Regions from separate parts of the Homo sapiens genome. Here regions 1, 2, 3, 4, 5 and 6 are each linked to region 7. Evidence: promoter capture Hi-C in human tissues and cell types (Jung and others, 2019). All regions are on one chromosome and are shown on one strand. Each heading gives the region's core, a stretch centred on a gene start or on the middle of the fragment in contact. The rest is flanking DNA. Distances are from core to core; before and after follow the strand shown.

Region 1 (3,235 bases), core at 595-3,094, 730 kb after region 7:
TAAAACCAGAAGAGTTTAAAGTAAAATGATGTTTACAAGGTTTGCAAAGAAGAGAATTTATGTGGAATGAACAATATACAAAGCAATATACTTGAACTGTGTTTGCATGGAAAATACTTTTTTTCATTTTCTATATGCTGTTCAAACAACTGAGCTATTCATTAAAATGATGTAATAATTATATTAGTCATTTAGCATTGCATAGATAAAACCATGTAAGTTCAATATCCATTAAAGTTAGAAGATTGACCACATTCAGCTTTGTAACTGGGGGATTTTGCAGGTACATAAAAATGTTAAAAGGAATTTTAAATGAATGAAAACATTCCAGTTGAAAATGGTAAGAATGTGCATTCAGAATTAAATGCACTCTTTTCCATACAGTGACTAAGGAATACACTAATGCAATTGTAAGTTTAGCTACTGAAGCACCTCTTCTGGTTCGAGGACATTTTCCCAAATCTCACCACCTAAAAACCCCAAATTTGTTTCTTCTTCTGACTGAGGTAGTTAATATTTTCCAGAGAAACACCACTCACATGTGGTAAATAGAGGTAACTAAACCACTAGAGTAATGCTTATGGTTTTGGAACCCCTACATTTTGAAAGACTTGATATTTTGAAGTTAACGTTTGGGCTTTGAAAAGTGAAAAGTCATATTTTTATAGTTCAAGAACATCCCTCTCTGCCACCAAATTCACACGAGAAACATAAAACTTATTTTCCTCCATGTTCAATTTTAAGAATTTTGCCCATCGAATACTCATGCTTCAAGGAAACACACTCTCTCATCAAAATCTTTCTTACTAAACAAGCACCTCTGTCAGAAGTGTCTTAATTTCTTATCACAGAATTTTATCCACACAAGGAGCAATAAATAATTCATGTCACTGCCTCTTTGTTGTGTGTCCCTGAACTGCACAGAGCTGGAAGGCTGACAGCTGTGTCAGGACAAGCACCAAAGATCTGACATGACAAGTGACTAACAAGTTTCTTTCAGTTCACAGTGAAAGAAGACAATGGCCCAAAGTGCAGAAAGAAATCCTAAAACAAAATAAAACTGCTTCTTTCTTTTTAGCTAAGTGTTTGCTATGAGCTTATTTCCAACCCACAAGCCCTGGTCATTTTATAGGACTGCCCAGCCCCCTTTATTCCTCACACTGGCTTGGCCATTTACTCCTGGCCACGGATCAATATGAGCAATTCTTGGAGAAATACGATGTCTCCATGACAACCAAGCCACAAATTCTCAGTGGAAGGCAGTGAGACCAGTAGTGAACTCTCCAGAGGTTTCTAGGCCTATAAGGCAAGATGTCTTAAAATGCAGGAAGGGACAGAGGAAAAAGCCAGAGTAATTCATTCTTTATTACCAGCATAATGATGTCCGATGTATAGAACGGTACTCACTTTTTGAGTTAAGATTCTTTATCAGCACCTATATTTTCTAATTAATCTTTCTTTCTTGATAAACACGTTTGTGTGTATCAATCAGATAGAGAATGTTATATTTGAATCTCGCTCCCATTCCATTCATATTAAGGGATGATGGAAATTTATTCTACTTTTGAAATGATATAAAGCTGATCTATTCTTATCAAAAACAATGGACATTTAGGTAAAAACCTGATTCACAGATTTACCTGTCTGACAAAATGAGTAATAGAAAACTGTATTAAGACACTTTTAAAACCTAATAAAAATTTGGCAACATTAGTCAAAACTAAAAGTAATGGATAAATAATTTTTATTATAGAAATTTAACACTACCATTTATTTACCCTCTCCCTTTTAGAGTGAGACTCATCTACATTTTTCTTTTGGCTATTATGGCAAGGGGTGGGGTTAATTTGCTCATTAAACATTTCTGTCACTGCTAAAGATGCCATTTCTCAGTTCCATGGGATCTGAAAGCAGAAGTGTGGTTGAGAACAGGCACAGGGCAGCAGTCCATCTTCAGAGGAATCTTGGTGGAGTGAAGAGGACTGATATACAATGCCATCGCCACTGCGCCTATTGGGGTTCCGAGATGACTTAGGGGACCTGACATAGATTGCAGGCTGCACCTTTCACTGAAAATTAAATCTCAGTAACTCTCCTTGGGGAAGGATCAGGGGACTGTTTGTTTGCAGCTGCCCCCTGTCAACAAAGGCTACAAGATTTGGAAATCTCTTAACTAAGCTGACAGGCCACAGAGAGGATGAATCAAAAATATGATACATGGATCAGCACACAAAGATGTGAGAGGGTAGAGGGTACACAGGAGCCAGATAAAACAGGAATCACAAATATTAAGTGGAGGAGATATTTAACTCTTTCATTCATGATAATAAGGTACCTTCTAGCACCTTATAACTTTGTATTTATCCAGGAATGTTCATTCGACTTTTACAAGATTTTTTGATTCTAATTAATTAGTTAAGGCTAGGCGTGTTTCAAAATGAAACAAAAATAGAAACAGAAATCCTTGTATAAGTGTTTCTAGCTGTATCCTTCTAGTACATTTCTCTTTTATTTCTATAAAGGATATATACAAATATGTAACTTTGACAAAGAAAAGCTTTTATTGCATGAGAGAAGGGTTACTATTTTCTAGACTTTATTTTCCCTAAACATTTGACAGTATTCATTACCATCATGCTAAAATCCTGTCATCCCAGTTACAGTCCTGTTTGTTTCTAGAAAGGTAAATAGAATTGTAATGATGACAGTTTCTCTTTTCACCCCCGTCTGTCCACTTCCGCTCCCCTCTTGTTAGTTTCCATTATTTGAAATATTTAAAATGTTGCCATTTCTCTATAGTTTCCAATCTCTGGCTCTATTAACCATTTAGCCTAAAATTGATGATAATGAACTAATAGTGTCAGCTTCCCTTCTCAGTCATAAAGCCTTTGTACTTCCTCCAACTGAATTCTTGATGAAAGAGGAAAAGATAACAGCTCCACACTGTGACCCCTGGAGGTGACCATTAATTTGACAGTGCAGCTGCTAAGAGAAAACAGCATTACAATGTCCTCTCCCCTCACCCCCTTCCAAGGACCCCAAAGCTGTGTCAAATTTATCATTTTATACTTGACTATTTTTAAATGGCTTTCACCTGGACTCTCAGACTCTTCCAAGGCACATCTGTCAGGCATGTCCTCCACGTCTTGGAAGTTTGCCGAGTTTGAGTTGCTGTCATGCTTGACCGGGCTGACTGGAGCTATTAAAAGAGAGAGAGAGAGAGAGAGAGACAGAA
Region 2 (3,648 bases), core at 30-2,529, 940 kb after region 7:
AACAATTTTGGGAGACAATTTAGCATTATATATTTAATCCCATTAAAAATGTCCGAAAGAGAGGAGAAAGGGGCCAAGCATACTTCCCACATTGCTTTGAGAAAGTCAAGAAAATGAAAACCTTCTGTCCTGCAGGATTTCTGTTGCTAAACCACCAAAAGTGTAAATACCAATATAAATTTTTAAAACTTATGATACATGTTATTTCTAATGTTCAATTATATGTCTACACACACACACACACAAATATATACATAAACATGGGTGTGCACTGACACTATGAACACAAATTTTCCTTGTAGTTCCATTGTCTGGAATTCAGTATCTAGTTCCCCATTTTCACTTCTTAGGTCAATATGTTAGTCTATCTAGTCTATAATACACTTGCATTATTCTAACTGCCATGTCCAAACACCATGAAGCCAAAGTTTCTACAGGAAATGTTCTGAGCATTGCAATTCTGAATACCAGGATTATACATATTAATCATACTACAAAGCTACCCAGAGAGTTCTGATTTCAATAATACTGTAACCAGAACATGGACCTTCTTCTGCTTCAAACACAGAGAAAAATGCATTATACCTATTTTTAAGTTGTTGCTTCCTGACCAAGCTTATCAATAAGTCTGGAAAATCCCAAGCAGTGAAAAACTAAGAGAAACCAGAAAACCAGTACAATAAGTATTAGAACTAAATTAGTATGTGGCTTTTTGGCTAGGAGTTTGCATATTAATCCCTATGTAAGGATAGGAAGCAAAACTCTCAGAAGTGGCCTTGCTCAATGAAAGAGGAACAGAAAAACTACCCCAGGAAGATAAGAAAGAGTATTTCCAAATCTCCCAAGAAAAATCTGTCAAGCCTGAAGTACAAATGGGTTGGGACTAAAAAAAAAAAATAATAATATTATATATAATTCCGGAATGAATTTCTTCACATGGGGATTCTGGAGTTATGTATAATACTTTTATAATAATTATATATAAAAAATTGTTTCCAGGTCAATGATACTATTGGGAGGCTTGTCAGAAACACTACAGACCTATTTGAATATCTAAATTTTTTTAAAAGACCATGACAAGTGTTAATGGCTAGGCGCAGTGTCTCAGGCCTGTAATCACAGCACTTTGGGAGGCCGAGGTAGGTGGAGCACTTGAACCCAGCAGTTCAGGACCAGCCTGACCAACATGGTGAAACTCCCTCTCTACTAAAAATACAAAAATTAGCCAGGCATGGTGGCACACACTGGTAATCCTACCTCGGGAGGCTGAGGTGGGGAAATCACTTGAACCCAGGAGGTGGAGGTTGCAGTGAGCTGAGATTGTGCCACTGCACTCCAGCCTGGGCTACAGAGCAAGACAGGGGGGAAAAAAAAGACCATGACAAGTATTAAGAAGAATGTACAGCAACTGGAACTCATACACTGACGGGGGGAACGTACAATGGAAAACAGTTTGGCAGAAATAGGTCAGTGATTGCTCAGGGAAAGAAAGAACAGGGAACAGTGACATTACAATGGGGAGTAAGAAAAGTTTTGAAGGTGGTAGATAAGTTCATTATTTTAATTATGGTAATGGTTTCATGAGGGTATACATATGTCAAAACTTAATCAAATTTATACTTTAAATGCATTTATGTATACACACAAATATTATGTGTGTCAATTATACTTCAATAAAGTTGTTTAATGTTGTACTTAAGGCATTCTGAAAGACACTCTCACTATCAAGAGTGAACGAGATTTCTGTAAAACAATTAGCCCCAGTAGCAAATAATCTTACAATAAAAAATTATAAAACATTCAAGATAAACCATGAGCAAACAGAAAGATTAGTACCCCAGGAACTAATAATAAGTGAACAATCTAAAACATATTTCAAAAGAAGAACAAATATAATAAATTATTATAAATCAATAAATAGACAAAAGATGAAATTAAAAACCCAAAGAAAAAACCTACAAAAGGTAGACTTTTAAAAGAAACAAATATTACTTCTAGAAATAAAACATAATCGTTAAAATATAACAAATCTCAAAAGGACAAATCAGAATAGACCCAAGTGAAGGGAGAATAATTAACTTGAATACAATTTTCAGGAAATTTCCCAGAATACAGCAAGAAGTCATTAAAAAAAAATGAAAATGTTGAGTAAAAAGAATTCAGAGACATTAAGATAAATCAGAGATGTTAAGAGATATAGATGCTAAGTGAAAAGACCCAATATTTATCTAATATAAGCTCCAAAAATGATAGAACCCTTTCCCTTCTTTGCTAATTCAGTCCTAAAGCCATGGAATATTAATAGAACAGAGCAAGAGTGGAGTGTTGGAGTTCAAATAGTATGAGGAGGGCATCAGGATAGGAAGACAGTGGAGTCAGAGGCCAGGGATGGTGAGTGAGGTGTCCAAATGTGGGGGCAGCTGCATGTAAGGTGCAGCCTCCAAGGAGGGTGAAGAGGAGTAATGTATACAGGGCTGTCTGGCACTGGGTATTGGAGCAGGAACAAGTGAGAAAGGAGCTCACATAATGAGGTTCCTCAACAAGGAGTGTCATGAGCCTAACAGGGGTGAGGACAGTGAAGGAAGTGGCCCTGCTGTGAGGGGCCAGAGCTTGGGCAGGGTGAGGAGGACATCAATTTACAAGGATGGTCTGGCACAAAGTGTTGAAGCCCAAGGAGGATAGGAAGGCATGCACACTGAGGGGTGTTGAGCATCCTGAGAGCACTTGTAGGATGAGAAAAGTTGCTGCCTGAAAATGTAATCAGATGTAGTAAAGGAATACAGGGATAAGCAGGATTTTCACATATTAGGCAGTGGACAGGTCCACAAGAAGTGTTAAAGCCAGAAAATGATCAGGAGGGCATCCACACAGAGGACAGGGTAGCACGTTTACAGGAAATTGGTTACATAACAGACTGATGGCAAATAATTAGTATATTGCTTATTTATAACAGGAATCAGATTTCTTACTGTTAGAAAAAAAGAGTTAGAAATATGGAAAGGAAAAAACTTGAATGATCCCTGTGGTACTGGAGTCGAATTAGAGGAACTGGTGTAAAACAAAGGTAGATGTAAAACACACACACACACACACACACACACACACACACACACACACACACAGACTTGCCATCTCTGTTAGCTGGAGTCTTGGGAGAAGCAACACTCCAATAGCAATGAGCTTACATAGCATCTCTAAATACTATTCTCTACTAAAAAGGAATCAGGTTTTATTGGGAAACTGGTTGATTCCAGGCCTGGAGCAGGGAAACACAAGATGCTACTGGACTAAATTGCTGTTAAAACAAGGAAGTGCTCAAATAGTGAGGATATATCAAAGGAACACAGAAGTCTGCTTGAAGGACCTCCCACAGGCCAAACCATGGACAATTTGAGCATCGGAATAAATAATGTTAGCAACAGAATGAATAAATGGATTAAACTTGCTAGTTAAAAGACAAAAATTATCAATTAGAATATATCCTACTATATCTTACTTACAAAAGATTCCTAAAATATTAACGTAGAAAGGTTGAAAATAAAGAGGTGAATAATAATGTACCAGGCAAATAGTAATAAAAGAAAACTGATGTAATACTGGACAAAATGGGCTTTAAAGCAAAACCACTGTTGGGGGAGGTGGTGGTCA
Region 3 (3,412 bases), core at 372-2,871, 810 kb after region 7:
CAAGAACAAAGATACAATATACCAGAATCTCTGGGACAAAGCTAAGGTAGGGTTAAGAGAGTAATTTATGGCACTAAATGCCCAGATCAAAAAACTAGAAAGATCTCTTGTTAACAGCCTAACTTCACAACTAAAAGAACTAGAGAATCAAGAGCAAAAAAATCCCAAAGCCAGCAGAAGACCAGAAATAACCAAAATCAGAGCTGAACTAAAGGAGATAACTCACAAAAAAATCTATTCAAGAGATCAACAAACCCAAGAGCTGGTTTTTGGAAAATAAAATAAAATAAAATAGATCACTCACTAGACTAATAAAGAAGAAAAGAGAGAAGATTCAAATAACACAATCAGAGATGATAAGGGGGATATTACCACTGACCCAACAGAAAAGCAATCCTCGGAGAATATTATAAGCTAGTAATATATACACGTGACCTAGAAAATCTGGAAGAAATAGATAAATTCCTGGACACATGCACCCTCAAAGACTGAACCAGGAAGAAACTGAATCCCTGAACAGACTAATAATGAGTTCTGAAACTGAGGCAGTTAAATAAACAGCTTACCAACCGAAAAAAGCCCAGGACCAGACAGATTCACAGATGAATTATATGAGATATACAAAGAAGAGCTATTATCATTCCACCTGAAACTATTTCAAAAAATAGAAAAGGAAAGGATTCGTCCCTAACTCATTCTATGAGGCCAGCATCATCCTGATACAAAAACCTGGCAGAAATATGACAAAAAAAGAAAATTTCCTGTCAGTATTCCTGATGAACATCAATGAAAATATCCTCAACAAAATACTGGCAAACCAAATCCAGCAGCATATCAGAAAGCTTACCCACCATGATCGAGTATGCTTGATCCCTGGGATGCAAGTTTGGTTCAACATATGCAAATCAATAAATATGATTCATCACATAAACAGAACTAAAGACAAAAACCACATGATTATCTCCATAGAAGCAGAAAAGGCTCTCAATAAAATTCAACATCCCTTCATGTTAAAAACTCTCAATAAAGAAGATATTGAAGGAACATACTTCGAAATAATGAGACATATATGAAAAAACCACAGCCAACATCATACTAAATAGGCAAAAGCTAGAACCATTCTCCCTTGAAAATCAGCACAAGACAAGGATGCCCTCTCTTACTACTCCTATTCAACACAGTATTGGAATTTCTGGCCAGGGCAATTCCACAAGGGAAATCAATAAAGGTCATTCAAGTAGGAAAAGAGGAAGTCAAACTACCCTTTTCGAAGATGTCATGATCCTCTATCTAGAAAAGCCCATCATCTCAGCCCAAAAACTTCTTAAGCTGTTAAGCAACTTCAGCGAAGTCTCAGGATACAAAATCAATGTGCAAAAATCATTAGCATTCCTATAAACAACAGTCAAGCTGAGAGCTAAATCACAAACGAACTCCCATTCACAATTGCAACAAAAAGAATAAAACACCTAGGAATACAGCCAACTAGAAAGGTGAAGGATCTCTACAAGGAGAACAACAAACCATGGCTCAAATAAATCAGAGATGACATAAACAAATGGAAAAACATTCCATGTTCATGAATAGGAAGAATCAACGTCATTAAAATGGCCATACTGCCTAGCAATTCACAGTTTCATTGCTATTCATATCAAGCTATCAACGTCATTTTTCACATAACTAGAAAAAACTATCTTAAAATTCATATGGAACCAAAAAAGAGCCTGAATGGCCAGGGCAATCCTAAGCAAAAAGAACAAAGTTGGAGGCATCACGTTACCTGATTTCAAACTATACTACAGGGCTGCAGTAACCAAAACAGCAAGGTACTGGTACAAGAACAGACACATAGACCAATGGAACAGAATAGAGAACCCAGAAATAAGATCACACACCTAAAACTATCTGATCTTTGGTGAACCTGACAAAAACAAGCAATAGGGAAAGGATTCCTTACTTAATAAATGTTGCTGGGATAACTGGTTAGCCACATGCAGAAGATTAAAACTGGACCCCTTCCTTACACCATATACAAAAATTAACTCAAGATGGATTAAAGACTTGAATGTAAAACACAAAATTATAAAAACCCTGGAAGATAACCTAAGCAATACCATTCGGGATATAGGCATAGGCAAAGGTTTAATGGCAAAGATGCCAAAAGCAACTGCAACAAAAGCAAACATTGGCAAATGGGATCTAATTAAACTAAAGAGCTTCTGCACAGCGAAAGAAACTATCAATAGAGCAAACAGGCAACCTGCAGAATGGGAGAAAATTTTTGCAAAATATGCATCTTACGAAAGTCTAACATCCAGAGTCTACAAAGAACTTAAACAAATTTACAAGAAAAAAAACTCTATTAAAACATGGGCAAAGGAAATGAACAGACACTTTTCAAAGGAAGACATATATGTGGCCAAAAATCATATGAAAGAAAGCTTAACATCACTAATCACTGGAGAAATGCAAATCAAAACCACAACGAGATAATACCTCACACTAGTCAGAATGTTGAAGTCAAAAAATTATAGATTAGAAAATCAAAAATAACAGATGCTGGAGAGACTGTGGAGAAAAGGAACGCTTATACATTGTTGGTGGGAATGTAAATTAGTTCAGCCATTGTGGAAGACAGTGTGGTGATTCCTCAAAGACCTAAAGACAGAAATACCACTCAACCCAACAATCCCATTAGTGGATATATACCCAAAGGAATATAAATCATTCTATTATAAAGACACATGAACATGTATGTTCATTGCAGATCTATTCACAATAACAAAGACATGGAATAAACCTAAATGTCAATCAATGGTAGACTGGATAAAGAAAATGTGGCTCATATACTCCATGGAATACTATGCAGCCATAAAAGAGAACAAGATCACGTGCTTTGCACTGACATGGATGGAGTCGGCGGCCATTATCCTCCAGTAAACTGACACAGGAACAGAAAACCGAATACTGCATGTTCTCACTTATAAGTGGGAGCTAAATGATGGGAACACTTGAACACGTAGAAGGGAACAACCTACACTGCAACCTACTGAAGAACAGAAGGTGGGAGGAGAGAGAGGATCAGGAAAAACTACTAATGAGTACTAGGCTTAATGCCTGAGTGATGAAATAATCTGTACTGCAAACCCCCATACACAAGTTTATCTATGAAACAAACCTGCACTTATACCCCTCAACTTAAAATAAAAGTTTTAAAAAAGTAAAATCAAGCTAACATAATTCAACTAACTGCTTAAATGAATGGCTTTATAAGTAATTTGAGGATAGCCGGGCATGGTGGTTCACACCTGTAATCCCAACACTTTGGGAGGCCAAGGCGGGGGGATCATTTGAGGTCAGGAGTTTGAGACCAGCCTGATCTACATGGTGAGACTCTGTCTCTACTAAAAAT
Region 4 (3,553 bases), core at 537-3,036, 860 kb after region 7:
AGGCCAAATAGTTGGGGATTAAATATCTGGGTCATGGGACTGAACCTGTAGTTGACGTTTTTCATCTTTTTTAATGTATGATGTTTGATTTGGGTTTTTATCACAAGAATGAATGCAACTCAGATTAATAATAATGGAATGCTCATTCTTAGTTTCTTTTCTTTCTGTCATGCTTGTGGAAGCTGAAAATAATATTTCATAAACAGTTATGTGAGTTCAATAGACTGGAAATTATTATGGCTGAAGAATATGTGTAAACCTTACGGGACATCCCCTGCCCCACATGATAAGTGTCAAAATCAAATTTATAACTCCAAAGATACTCTTGCTAAGAAAATAATAGAGTTCCTAGTTTAGGAGATATAATATATTTTAAAATAATAGTACTAAATAGAAATTTGAATTTTATGAACATTCTGAAATATTAAAGAGGATATTTCCTAGGTTTTGATTATGCTTAAATATACCCAGTCTGGAAATCAACACAAAATTACCAGTGGATAGTAAAAATCAATTAGAGTTCTTTCCCAAGTATCACTCATAAACTACTGACAAAACCTGCTCTAATTCTCAAGTGAAGAAACTTTTAATTATAATATGATGTATGTGTTCATGCTGAATGAAATTCAGTATATCCTGAAAACAAGAATCAAAAGCAACCATACTAAATGATTTATCAAGAAGACATCAGGTAACCACAAGAGGGCTGCAAAAGATTTAAGAGATATGATGTATCATTCATACATAACGAGACTTTCGTAGATTATATTACTTAGTCCCATTATACTTCATGATTTGTCTGTGAATTAAATACCCATTTATTATACCCTTTATACAGATAGAGAAGTAAGGGCCCATATCCTTAGATTTTATTAATTAGTGAAAGATAAACAGATTTTGATAATTATTTCCTGTTACAAAACTGAAGTCTGATAAAATATAATAACTCAATGTTTTAAAATACAAGAACTTGGTCCTAGAATTAATGGACGTAGAACATTAGATGAAGGCAAAAAAACATCAAGTTGTGGCCCCATAGCTGGGCCTTTGCGGTAGGTGCACAAGAACAGTGAAGCAAACCATCATCTGAGGTACTGTGTGTTATATGGACACTTCCTCACCATGCAGCTCATTGAATTTTCTGTAACTAATCTCAGTAGCTATCTTGATTAAGATAGAAGGTAGACCATTTAAATCAGATGTATATTGAGGGCATAATTTGTCATGATTAATTGGATTATCATAAAAAGTGAAAATTTTGACAAAACACACTCAGAACTGTTAGTTTTCTGCTTCTATCTTACTAATTCCATCCTTGTTAACACCAGAAATTTAATTACTAAAAATATGCCTCAAGATATTTTAAGCTGATCGTTAGCATACATAAATGTTAAAGTCATAAAATAAAGATACGCTTAAGAGATCTTGGCCAGGTGCAGTGGCTCACGCCTGTAATCCCAGCATTTTGGGAGGCCGAGGCAGGTGGATCACCTGAGGTCAGGAGTTCAAGACAAGCTTGGCCAAAATGGTGAAACCCCATCACTACTAAAAATACAAAAATTAGCTGAGCGTGGTGGTGCACACCTGTAATCCCAACTACCCAGGAGACTGAGGCAGGAGAATCGCTGGAACCTGGGACGCAGAGGCTGCAATGAGCAAGGATCGCACCACTTCACTCCAGCCTGGGTGACAGAGCAAGATGCCATCTCAAAAAAAAAAAAAAAAAAAAAAAAAAAAAAGAGATCTTAAAGACAATTTGTTACCATCTATCAACCTGACTTTATAATTGATCTGGTTTAATAAAAGATAGGTCCTTGGTAATTAACAATTTTGGACTGACAATCATATAATAAAAACTTTGTGAAAGTTCAAGATTCAGGTATCCTCTTAGATTTGGGGAGATGTCAACTGTCAAATAATTTTCTCATTTGAGCCTCAAGATAATCACACATGAAGAGAAAGGACCCATACTATTCTTTCCATATTTTGCCATCTGATTACATGATGAATGTCATGCTATGGTTGTTGTAAAACAGAGATTGGCCTGAGAGACAAGAAAAAGGAAAACAAAACATCTGCTACCAGAGAATCAATGGAGAAGGCCACGTTTTATATAACGACAAGAGACCTCTAGTGGGAGCTCAGAAGAAAGTAATGAAGGTGAGCAGGACTTTGCATTTTGTAAGTTTTTTTTTTTGAGATGGAGTCTTGCTCTGTGGGCCAGGCTGTGGCACAAGCTTGGCTCACTGCAACTTCTGCCTCCCAGGTTCAAGCAATTCTCCTGCTTCAGCCTCCTGAGTAGCTGGGATTACAGGCATATGCCACCACGCCTGACTAATTTTTGTATTTTTAGTAGAGACGGGGTTTCACCATGTTGGTCAGGCTGGTCTTGAACTCCTGACCTTGTGATCCACCCACCTCGGCCTCCCAAAGTGCTGGGATTACAGGCGTGAGCCATGGTGCCCAGCTTTGTAAGCTTTCTTAATGGCTTTCTAAAAGTCATCAGGTTTTGGGCAATATGCGAAGACATAGAACAACTACAATTTTCAGTCCCATTTGATTGTGCATGGAGTTAAATATGTGCATAAGAAAGCCCCTGCTGCTCACAGCAGCTTGTTAGGATCATTTTTATATCTGACAGGAATAATCACACTTGAACCAAAAGATTATGCAGGATATTTTAATTTAGGATTAAAGCTGTTTGCAGAATTATATAAGCTATATAGTATGAAAAAAATTACAAATAAATAAACGTCATTTGGAGATGCAGAGAACTGGTGGTGCCTTCAGGGCATCACTATTAAAACAGAATTCAGAAAAATGGGCAAGAACGTTAGCTGGATGTATTTTTTTAATAAGTTCATGCTCTTAGTTCCAATAAATAAAGATAAAGTCTTAATACATTTTGTTTTTAATAGTATGGGGAAATATTCCATGAAAATAAATGCTTTCTTTTTTGAGAATTGCTTCCTGTTAGTTTTTTGCATTTGCTACTCTCTTAGGGCCAGTTTCAACATAAGTCATTGGTACAGAAGTAGTGCTCCTGTTGGGATTGCTTTAAATGGGTCCACATGGTACTCTCAGTCAATAAGTGGTATTACCAGCTTTCAACAAGAAAGATTTTATTCTCCTCCATTTCTTTCCAGTTATAAGCAACTAATAGTTTGAGTTAACATTTGAATTCTACAAACATCATTTTTTTCCAGAAAATACCATCCAGTGCATTAGTCATTAAAAAAACAGAATAGAAACACATTTTAAAGAGGTAACATTTATAATCATTTTAATCAGAACCAACAAGTTTGCTCAATAACAGAGCATCCAAATCCACTGGAGTGAATTTGGACCCCAATAAATAATAACCTCTTTAAGTAGGTGGGATAGGGTCATCTTTTGGGTACTACAAGAAGCAGGATCTTAACAAATTGTGAGAGGCTACATGTTTTTAAAAAGGAAAAACAGGCCTCGCATGGTGGCTCATGCCTGTAATCCCAGCACTTTGGGAGGCCAAGGCGGGCAGATCACAAGGTCAGGAGATCGAGACCATCCTGGC
Region 5 (3,343 bases), core at 792-3,291, 580 kb after region 7:
AAGCCATTAAACACGGGGAAAGAACAGAATAAGCTAGAATTGACAGGAATAGGGGGATTTTTCTTGAGGAATTTTACTTTAGAATCTGCTAAACTGTTTACATAAATATTAAAACATAACTAAGTTATAAGAAAAGTCTTTTAAAAGACCTTAAACTGGTTTCCATAATCATTTCTATTGATAGTTTCAGCTTTTTTAATTATCTGTTTTATATGGTATATATATTTGCTAAAACAAATGAGTAATTATCTGAGTGTCACTGAGAACTGTGGCTTTTGACATGGGATAAAGGAGATACATATGTAAGATCAGTGAGGTTAAGTAAAAGTACTGTATTCCTGAATTTGAATTAGAAGTATCAGTACGGATTTGTGATGATTCCAGCTTTATTAAAATATACGTATTTCTTAATGACTTCCACTAATGATAGATTCTCTTTCCAGGAACCAATCTTCTTATCAATAACAACTAGAAAAGTTAGACAAAATATCGAGAACATCCATTCAAAGAGAACACATCAGACAGCTTTCAAAGGTGCCAGGACTGAAGAAGAAAAAATTTCAGAGTAGGAAAGCCCACAAAGTGAGATATTCTACAGTATTGTGCCTTTTGAGGAATTTGCTGATTTTTAAGGGATTTGGGAGCGAGAGAAAAGCAGAGCAAAAAGTGATAGTTCGGTGGTTAGGAAGCTGAGATACAGTTTTTTCAGTATTGTGGTGCTGGGGAAACACAAATTGGAGGTGAGGGTGGGATAAGTAGGAAGAGTGCTGTTATTAATTCTAGACTTTCAGTTAAGAATCCTTAAAAAGCTATATTTTAGTATATTTTAGTAATAGACTGGCACACAGAAAAGAGCACGACCAAACTTCAAACAAGCTCTGTCAGTCCCACTCATGGAATAAGGCAATCTGTTCCTATTTACCAGCACTTTAAAAGTAAAAAGCTTCTCTGGGAAAAGATAACAGCAACCAGAGCTTTGTTATCACTATAATTTTGTATATGTCTGGTATTCAATAAAAAAATTAACAGGCATAGAAGAATACAGGATCAAATGACCAAAAAACGAAGAGAAAACAGAAGTAGATCAATAGGCAATAGAGATATCAGATAATTCAGACACCGACATTAAAGTAACTGTGATTCATAACTCAAGAAAAGAAATGACAAGATAGAGGAATTCTTCAAAGAGTTTGAACCTATTAAAAATGACAATTCTAGAATTAAAATATAATATATATAATTGTAGTAATATAATTGAAATTATGGACTGAATAGGTGGGTTTAACAGGAGATTAGACACAGAAGAAGACAGATTTGTAAAATCAGAAGGTAAATCAATATAAAATATCCATACTTAAGGACAAAGAGGAAAAAAATTTTAGTACAGAGAAACTAACAAGAGTATTAAAAAATGCCACAGTATCTATGTCTAACAAATGTATAATTGGAGCCTTAGAATGAGAGAAAAAAACGGTGCAGAAGCAATATTGGTAGACATACTAGCTATAAATTTTCAAAAAACTGAAAAACATCAATTCTCAGATTTAAGAAGCTCTACAGACTCCAAGCTGTTTAACAAGAAAAGCATACCAAAATAGACTTAATAGTTAAATTGCTAAAAAGCAATGAAAAGAAAAAAATAATTAAAGCTGACAGAGAAAAAGAAAATGACATTACTTTCAAAGGAGCAACAATAAAACTGATACTTGACTTTTCAAAATAAATCATGGAAGCAAGAAAAAAGTTTATAGTTCTGAAGGTAACTGCCAACCTAAAATTATATAGCCGATGAAAATATCCTTCAAACATAAATGTGAATAAAGATGTTTTTGCAAAACAAAAAATTGAGAGCATTTATCATTTTGAAAAAACACGCTTAAACTTTGTAAAAGTTTATTGCATAAAATTATATATCAATAACTCTAATTAAAAAGAAAAAGAAACTATTAAAGGGAATTCTTTTGGTAGAAGAAAAATGGTCCCAGAGGAAAACATGAATATATGGGAAAAACTGAAGAACACTAAAAAGGATAAACCTGTGGGTAAATCTAAATGAATACTGATTGTACAAAATAGTAATTTTAATATCTTATATGGATATTTAATATCTTATGTGGATATATATATATCTTCTATGGTAACCACTATGAGCAGATTATAAAAACATAGAATAAGCTAACATTTTAAAATAAAATACTATTATATATTCTAACAGTTGGGAAATCTTTCATTATATTTATTCTTAGGTACCCTTTTTGTTGCTATTATAAATTATATATATATATTGTTGCTAGTATATGAACATATAATTGTTTCATGTAGTAATTTATGTCTACCCAACTAGTTAAACTCTCTTCTTCATAATAACAATTTTTGTGGAATTTTTGGAGCTTCTATATTGGCAATTATATTATCTGTGCATAATGAGAGTTTTTTCTCTCTTGTTTTTATTTCCTATTTATTTCTCTTGTTTTACCATGTTTGCTAGGATCTTGAAGACAATGGTGAATGGAAGCAGGGTCTCTGGACATATGTCTTATTTCTGATATTCAAGAGAATTCTTAGGATAATATTTGTAGTTTTCTGTTAGTGAGGTTAACAGAGTTCCTTTGTATTTCTAATTTACTAAAAATAATTTTATCATGAATCTTATAAAATGTTTATGCATCTACTCAAATCATTTATTCTTACTTATCTATTAATATAGTGAATTACACTAATCGATTTTTCTAAAGTTAAACCAATCTTGAATTACTGAAACAAACTCAACTTGGTAATGATCTATTATATTTTTAATATATTGCTAAATTCCATTTCCCAATATTTTGTTTCTGATTCTTGCATCTATGTTTTATAAATGAAATTGGCCTGTAACCATTCTCTCTTGTAATGTCCTTGACAAGTTTTGACATTAAGACTATATCATTTTTACAAAAGAAGATGAGGGGTTAGTTTTCACTCTATTTTCTAATTTCTGGAGGAATTTGCATATAGCTGCAAGAATCTGTTTATTAAAAGTTTTTAAAGCTTATTTGTAATATGTTTTGGGCCTAGAGTTTGTTTAATGGGAATGTCAATATTAATTTTTTAAATTTCTTTTTCAGTACATTTCGTTAAGTATATTTTTCTAGAAGTGTTTTTTTGTGTTTTCAAATTGTACACATTTTAAATTTGTTGAAGTGAAGCTGTTTATTTTATTCTGGAATTCCTATTGAAGTTTTATCTTTGAAATCTTATTTTCTTGTGAAGATGAGATTCCTTGTTGGCTCACTTTGCCCACACAGATTTTTGTTTAGCCATCATCATGAATCTGCAGCACCTTCAAGTGTATTAGCTTTATATG
Region 6 (3,469 bases), core at 167-2,666, 540 kb after region 7:
TTATCATTCACTTTGCTACACCTCCATAGTAATAATGTAAGAGTTACGTAGCGCAAGAGTTATTTCTGTACTTTTCTTTTAAAAATAATGATAGCAATGACCTCTTACGTAGCACTTTTCAGCAAATAATGTATACATTTACTTTAATATACAAAGAGACTACACAGAATTTTTTAAACAACCTTGTGAGGTAGAATTATTCTCTTCTCTCTACTTACAGAAGAGAAAACTGAGGCTCAGAGAGGTTGAGTAATTTACACAAAATCACACAGCTAGTAAAGGGCAGACCTGAAACACAAGGCAGGCCATTTAATGTCAGAGTCAAGGCTCTTTCCATTATTCTATGCTGCCTTCTAATAACACTTTCAAAGAGCAAGTTTTTGCCTCTAAAACCTAGTAATAGCCTTTTCAACATGCTGAAGTCCAAGTCAGAGGATCGGGGGCATATACCATCCAGGCCATATTCACAAAGAGTAGACAGCCACAGAGAAAGGCAAAGCATACAAATGGCTACTTTGAAGCCCAGCTATTAATATGGATTACTGCACAGCTGATGGCATCCGAGGACAGCCACGTCAATTTAGCAACAAGCAGTGATGATCTGCGTGAGCTCTGCTGTCATCCATTCTGCACATGCCTAAAGGTGGGCAAACTTGCCATCTGAAAAATAGTGGGGTGCACAGCTTAGGTACCTCCCTGGTAGTGCACAAAAGCCTCTGATCTGGCCTTCTGCACAGTTGCAGAGTGTTCAGAAAGCTTGGAATGGCTCTTTGAGAGGGTCTGGACAAGGTTTGGATCATTTGGGAAGGAATGTGGCTTGCAGAATGGGCTCAGCAAGGACTGGCCTCTCCTGGGGAGTCCTGCACCATTCCTGCACTCTCTATCCTCTGCCTCCCCATCCCCCACAGCTGCCACGGAGCTGACAATAAAAAACGATGCCCTAGGCTGTCCTGTTTTTATTATTAGTTATATGGCATCATAAATGTACATCGAGATGTTCAGTAAATGAAATTGTGCCAAACACCAAACAGGGCCGCTGCCCCAAAGATCTTTTGGCTTTAGGGCAATGGCAGAACAATATAAGAGAAACAAAGGGGACTGAGAGCCAGATGAGGTGAGGTTTTAGTACTGTTTGACCTTTCAGAGGAGGAGGATCTGGCAGCCCAGGAAACTGAGAGGTACAGCATAGGAAATGCCTGACAGCTCAAATGGGCTTTGAGGCCAGCAGTTCAGGGTCCCAGGGATGGATAGGAGATGATTTTGGAAAGTCAAGGAAATTTGGCCCTTATGTTATTTAATAAGATAAATGCAAAAGGGTGGAGGTAGGTGAGACTATTTGCTCCTAATCATGAGCAATCTGACTTAGATAGTAGGGGCATAAGCAGAAGATTCGCCCTCTTTGTGTCCCTTTAGCTTCCACGTAGTAATAAATTGCACAGACTTCTCCAGCAGATGCAATGTGTAAATATAGGACAATAACTGGAAATTTATGAGGTTAAATACTGAGGAATTGCTGAGTAGTAAAATGAAGAGACATAAATTACAGGAAATGCTGCCCTTCGATGAATACATTATGCATAATAATGAAACCTTTAAAAGGCAATAGTAACCAAATATCAGAAGAGGGTCTAAAAGGAGAAAAGCCACACAAAGAACTGGGACTAGGACAGTCCAAAGACAGAGCTACTTTATCACTATTAAGTAGTCATATCAGTTCTCTTAGATTTCTGTAGCTCTTAAGGGAGGACGAAGTGGAATACTTATTTAAAAGAGGTTATCTGGTGTGTAAAGAGTGTAGGGAGTATGGTCTGAAGAGCCACTGTGCTTCACTGCCCATGTAGCTTGGCTTTATGAACCTGTTATTCCATCTACAAAATGGTTTTAATAAACCCATTTCATGGAATTGTAAACATTGAAAAGTACAAAATGTGAAACACATAGCCCAGCATATAGGAATTTTTTTAAAAAAAATGAGTTCCCTGTAAGACTGATACCAAATGTTAATAAAGGTTTAGCAAAATACAGATGAGAAAGATGGGTCTCGCTAGAGAGATTAGGAAAGATTTAGGCAGGGAAGCATTTGAAAACTGGTTAGGTATTGATGAAGAGACGGGAAGAGTATGAATCAAGGCAAGGAAGAGAGAAAGGACAAGGAGTTTTCTGGAACTAAAAGGCAGGGGAAATAGATGACAGTAAGGAAAAGGATCTTGGTGCCCAAATCCTGTAGGGTCTTGACTGGAATGCCAAGTCATCTGGCCTTTGTTCTCTAGGCACTGGGCAGGCATCAGAGGTATAGGAACAGGGGGTCATATGGTCAGAGAGGTATTTATGGAAGATTATTCTGGCACAGTGTAAAACCATATTGGCATTGGGAAGGACTAGAAGCAGGGAAGCCAAATAGGGGACTGCAGCAGGGATATAGGGAAGGAAGCACGAATGAGAGTTGGAGCTAGGACAGAGGCAGAGGGGATAGAAAAGAGGAGACAAATGTGGGACATGGAGGATGCTGATCTGGCAGCATTTGGCTATTAATGGATTATGGAATAATGGAAAGCAAGGAGTATAAGATGGCTCTGAAATTTGAAATCTAGGAGACCAAGGATCTGGTGATGTCATTAATAAAAATGAAGAGGATGGGAAGAAGATGAAAGAAAATTTTAGATCTATCAAGTCTGGGGTACCCATAGCATTTCCAAGAACTGTTGAAGAGGCCACTGGAAATGTAGTCCTGGGGCTTGAGCCTGAACTGGCACCCATGTCATTGACATCTCAGTCCTAGTTGAACCATGGCACTGAGTGGGACATCCATTGGAGAGAGAATGGGGTGGGGATGAAAGAAAGTAGAAACAAGGGGAAGAGAGAACTAGGGCAAATGGCAGGAACTGTGTCTGCCTCAGGCAGGACAAGGAGAGAGCAAAGAAAGTAGAGACAGAGCATGACAGAGATGGAACAAGGAGGGTGTTTCCATGTGACAGCCAGCAGCAGCATCAAAAGTTAGAGAAGGGCAGAGGTGGGTGCGAGCTGAGAAGGAACCACGGGACTCAGTGACTTTGGTAACAAGTAGTTATTTCTTGCCCTTTCCCAAAATGTATTTGAAGATACTTAAAAGATTATAACACACATTAAGTAGGAGAACTGAAATAAACATTTTAAGAAGACAGCTCAATAATGAACTAGAAGGTGGCACTAGAAGTGAGTTAAGTGCTGCAGTTGAGCACTAGATTTAGCACTGAGTTTCTTGGCAGGTAGGAGATTTAGAAGTCATGGTATGCCTTTAAGGGTTCAGTTTCATTGGGGGTAAGAAACACACAACTTACACGACTTAGGATAGAAAGGGATGTAGGGTAGGGGGTGAGAAAGGAAGTGGAAGAGCAAGTCCAGACAAACCTTAAGAGTGGTTTTGTGGTGTAGAGAAGGAGAAAGGAGGACAGTATCAGTGTCTGGGATAGGACGTAGATTGTAGTGACAA
Region 7 (3,539 bases), core at 348-2,847:
GTACCTTATCTCCCGCGCGCCCAGCTCCTTGGCCGGCTCACCTGCTAAGCGGAGCGCGGACATGCGCTGGAACTCCGGCTCCTGCAGCCACTTCCACATCCTCCGGAAGGTCTCCCGGCCGGATTTGAGTTTGCTCCAGGGTTTGGGGTTGCGCAGCAGGTCCGAGAGGGTCCCCTGGGAGCGGCAGAGCACCCTCTGCGCGAAGATGGCCTGTGGGATGCTGTAGCGCTTGAGCTCGGTGGTGATACGCTGCGCCACCTCTTTGGTATTGATCTCTTCCATCTGCCCTGAATTACTTCCATTGCTGACCTGCGCGCCGGTCACCGAAGGGTTGGGCTCCCGGGCTGTGCCCAGGAGTTGCCCGTGGCCCTGGGCGTTCAGGTGGGCGTGGGGATGGTGCGGAGGAAGGCCGTTGATGGGCACCATGCCGGCCGAGGTGGGCGTGAGGTGCTGCTCCCCGTGGCGGCCGAGCATGGCCGGGTGGTGGGCTTCGAAGCCGTTGGGGGTGAGCATCTTGTCGGTGGGCATGGCGGCCCCCGGGTGGGCATAGTGGGGGAGCCCTTGCTGGGAGTTGTGGATGCTGCCCAGACCGGAGCTGGAGAGGGGCGAGAGGCTCTGGCCCATGCCGGCCACGTCCTTGTGGTAGGGGGTATAGAGGTTATTCATGGAGGCCAGCCCGCGCTCATCCCGCATGAGCGTGAAGCTACCGCTCACGTTGCCCGCCAGGCGCTGGTGGTGGTGCGGGTGGTGGTGGTGATGGTGGTGGTGGTGATGGTGGGGGAACTTGTCCGAGACTGTGGAGATGGGAGGCAGCGGCTGCAGAGGGGTCAAGGTGGTGTAGGTGGTGGGCATGCTCATACCTGGGGGAGTCTCGCAGGCCATGGTCATGGTGGGATGCAGGGGGCCGGCCAGGCTGTGCTCAGGGGCCCGGTGGTGGTGGTGGTAATCTCCGCCGCCGCTGCCGCCGTCCAGCAGGGACGCCATGCCCATGGAGCGCGGGTGCGCGGGGGGCAGGTGGCTGCCGCGGTGCGCCACGGAGCTGCGCGCGTGGGGGCTGCCGCCCAGCAGGTCGGCAGGGGCGGGCACCGGCTCATGGCTCACCCCGTGCAGCTCGCCGATCGCTTCCATGGTCAGCTGCGCGTTCATCGTGATCCGGGCGAGCAGGCGGCGGACACAACATCGATGTGGCCAGGCAGAGGCGGCGAGGGGCGCACGGAGTCCGGTCTTCACATCGGCTGCTGGCGACTGTTGCCTTCCTTCCTCTCACTGTGGGGCTCTGTCTCTCTCTCTCTCTCTCTCCGTGTGTGTGTGTCCGTGTGTGCGTGTGCGTGTGTGTGTGTGTGTGTGTCTCGCCTTCCCTCTTACCCCCCACCTTCCCCTCTGCGTCCTCGGCTTTTTTTTTTTTAATATTAATTTCCAAAGAGGATCCGCGCCGTTGGGAGAGCGCAGTGCCCCAGCCCGCCCGCCTCGGCCACCTCTCGCCCCTCTCTTTCTTAAAATTCTGAGGTCTCCGGCTCCCCTGCCGCGGCCCGCGCGCCTGCCGCGTCTGCTGCCTGCCCGCCCCGCTGGCCAGCTTGAGCCATGGCTCTGTTACTGTTACAGACTCTGTGGCCGCGGTTCGGTAGCCGCCGCCGCCGCCGCCGCAGCGGCCCGCCCTCACGCCCGCCAGGCGCAGCGCGCATGCGCGAGGCCCGCCCCCGCCCCCTAGGTCGCGGCGCGCCAGGCCCTTGGCGTCCCGGTACAAATGAAGGAGGGGGCCCAGCGCCTTCCCTGCGGCGCTGGATGGCCAGGGAGCTGCGGGCACGTGCGAAAGATTGGCGCAGAGCGCGACCTGGGGCCGCCGCTGCAATCCCAGGAGACTCGCGCCTGGCTCGCTCGCCTCCCTTGCTTGAGTGGGCTCTGTCCTCCCAGCCCGGGGACGCTCGTGTCGGGCTTCTAGCGGCTGGAGTGCTGTGCTTGGAGACATCGCCCCTCTCTCTCCAGTTGCTGCTTCCCGGTGCAGCTTGCCCGGGGAGCTGGGGACTGTGTCATCACCCCTTCGGCTCTAGCCCACTAAGCTTTATTTCCCGGGGGGCTGCTGGGAGTGCGCTTTCCCACCCTTGAATTCACGGCCTATTGGGGGATGGGGGTTGGGGTGGGGTGGGGTGCAGATTGCTTAAAGGGCTGGGTCCGTTTGGCGGCCGTTGACCCGGCACCCTTCGTCCTCCCAGATACATACTTGCCCACCCTTTCTCATCCATGCCCTGGGGAGAGGAGTAATCAGTGCCAAGAATCCCAGTTCGGGCCATACCTCACTGTCCCCCGCCGCCTGGCTCCTTCTCCCGCTCAGCTCATAATTAAGGCTGTGCGTCCGCTTCGCCGATGACTCGGCCTGTGGAGGGGGGCGAGGGAGAGCGGAGGGAGTGCCCTGGAGGGTACCCATGTTAACTTCCGGGTGCTGGTGGGGCCGTGGAGGCTCGGGCCGTCCCTGCGGTTACTCCCAAGGCCCTCCTGCTAAAGCACCCGGAGGCGGTTGCTTTCCAGAAGTACTGACGCAGACAGGGTGGACGCCGGCGCGCGGGTCTCCGCTTGGCCCCTAGGGACGCCCTTTTCCCGGCGTCCCCGAGAGACGCCTCCAGATTTGAAAATCAATTCAGCTTCGGGAGTAATTTCGCCCTTCCCACAGTCACGCTCCAATCTGGAATCGAACCTGGTCTTTGGGCCTGGTGGGGACGTGTGCGGAGGCCCCCAGTTTGAGACGTACACCCGGCCGCCACATGCCGCGGCTTTCTTTCATTTACAAAAGAAAGAAAAAAAATCCGCAACAAAAGGCAGAGCCGTGTCCGCTTAGGTGCTTTCATCCCTCAGAGAAAGGACAGATGTGCCCATTGTCCAGCCCGTGGCAGTTATGGCCGGGTCAGCGCCGAGCCTCAGCCCCAGGCAAGCGGTGGTTACAATGAGAATAGCCTCTCAGAGCCGGGGTATCTGGACTCAGATATGGAATAAAGTGTGTGTAGCCTGTGCTGGGCCAGACTCAGACTGTAGGTTTGCTTGCTGGGGCACCGAACTGCAGCCCACCCGTGGTGTTTCCACTGCAAATGCTCCCAAGCCCTTAGAGAGGCCAAGGCTGTGGTAGTGGTGGTAGTTGGGTTTCCAAGGCAAAAGTTTGGGCTGGCCAACCCTTTGGGAAAAGTTCCCACCGGCCCAGGCATGAGTAGGCCTATCTCTTTGCCCAGGTCCCTGCTACCACCAGGGCAACATCCTAATCCAGGTAGGTCAAGTTCAGTGGATACAGTCAACGTGACTTCCTTGAAGGCGGCCATGTCCTGGGACTGGTTAATCTAGCTGGTTTTATCACCAGAGGCACTCCCATCCTGTCCAAACAATGCATATGGAGGCCCTGCAAATAATTCATCTCAATGGATTTCATGTCTACTTTCATAATGAACAGTTAGGAATTTAGGAACCCCCAGAGAAGAAAAGATATTTTAGGGAAAATACACTGATGTAAAGGAACTCAGAAAACACGATTAACTCTTTAAACTTGTATCTATATCTAC

The links. The method cuts DNA at HindIII sites, captures the fragments that hold promoters and counts their contacts. A contact is called where the count stands out against the background at its distance.
Region 1: a fragment that was not itself captured here is called in contact with the fragment with the promoter of ONECUT1 in region 7 in 2 of the 25 tissues and cell types used here (dorsolateral prefrontal cortex and spleen).
Region 2: a fragment that was not itself captured here is called in contact with the fragment with the promoter of ONECUT1 in region 7 in 1 of the 25 tissues and cell types used here (dorsolateral prefrontal cortex).
Region 3: a contact is called between a fragment that was not itself captured here and the fragment with the promoter of ONECUT1 in region 7, in 2 of the 25 tissues and cell types used here (dorsolateral prefrontal cortex and mesendoderm cells).
Region 4: a fragment that was not itself captured here is called in contact with the fragment with the promoter of ONECUT1 in region 7 in 3 of the 25 tissues and cell types used here (dorsolateral prefrontal cortex, liver and mesendoderm cells).
Region 5: a contact is called between a fragment that was not itself captured here and the fragment with the promoter of ONECUT1 in region 7, in 2 of the 25 tissues and cell types used here (dorsolateral prefrontal cortex and mesendoderm cells).
Region 6: a contact is called between a fragment that was not itself captured here and the fragment with the promoter of ONECUT1 in region 7, in 2 of the 25 tissues and cell types used here (H1 embryonic stem cells and spleen).

The regions. Positions count from the first base shown.
Region 1 is chr15:53,520,124-53,523,358 of GRCh38, forward strand. WDR72 (WD repeat domain 72) reads right to left here. Exons shown (of 20, transcript NM_182758.4): 19 at 3,095-3,199. The region is part of intron 5 of LOC105370826 (a long non-coding RNA gene); the gene reads left to right. Among named protein-coding and RNA genes, the nearest start is that of WDR72, 240 kb to the right of the region's middle. The HindIII fragment of the contact is 7,774 bases long and covers 1-3,235 here.
Region 2 is chr15:53,733,924-53,737,571 of GRCh38, forward strand. The region is part of intron 1 of WDR72 (WD repeat domain 72); the gene reads right to left. Among named protein-coding and RNA genes, the nearest start is that of WDR72, 24 kb to the right of the region's middle. The HindIII fragment of the contact is 3,948 bases long and covers 1-3,253 here.
Region 3 is chr15:53,602,287-53,605,698 of GRCh38, forward strand. The region is part of intron 17 of WDR72 (WD repeat domain 72); the gene reads right to left. Among named protein-coding and RNA genes, the nearest start is that of WDR72, 160 kb to the right of the region's middle. The HindIII fragment of the contact is 3,426 bases long and covers 1-3,334 here.
Region 4 is chr15:53,653,522-53,657,074 of GRCh38, forward strand. The region is part of intron 14 of WDR72 (WD repeat domain 72); the gene reads right to left. Among named protein-coding and RNA genes, the nearest start is that of WDR72, 100 kb to the right of the region's middle. The HindIII fragment of the contact is 4,562 bases long and covers 1-3,553 here.
Region 5 is chr15:53,368,362-53,371,704 of GRCh38, forward strand. No RefSeq gene overlaps it. Among named protein-coding and RNA genes, the nearest start is that of LINC02490, 250 kb to the left of the region's middle. The HindIII fragment of the contact is 4,841 bases long and covers 1-3,343 here.
Region 6 is chr15:53,324,666-53,328,134 of GRCh38, forward strand. No RefSeq gene overlaps it. Among named protein-coding and RNA genes, the nearest start is that of LINC02490, 210 kb to the left of the region's middle. The HindIII fragment of the contact is 5,329 bases long and covers 1-3,469 here.
Region 7 is chr15:52,788,739-52,792,277 of GRCh38, forward strand. It overlaps ONECUT1 (one cut homeobox 1), which reads right to left and starts at 1,598. Exons shown (of 2, transcript NM_004498.4): 1 at 42-1,598. The coding sequence starts at 1,146. LOC105370824 (a long non-coding RNA gene) reads left to right here and starts at 1,692. Exons shown (of 2, transcript XR_001751550.2): 1 at 1,692-3,539. RefSeq lists enhancers at 1,594-1,888, 1,885-2,653, 2,654-3,421 and a silencer at 1,636-1,705. The HindIII fragment of the contact is 12,558 bases long and covers 1-3,539 here.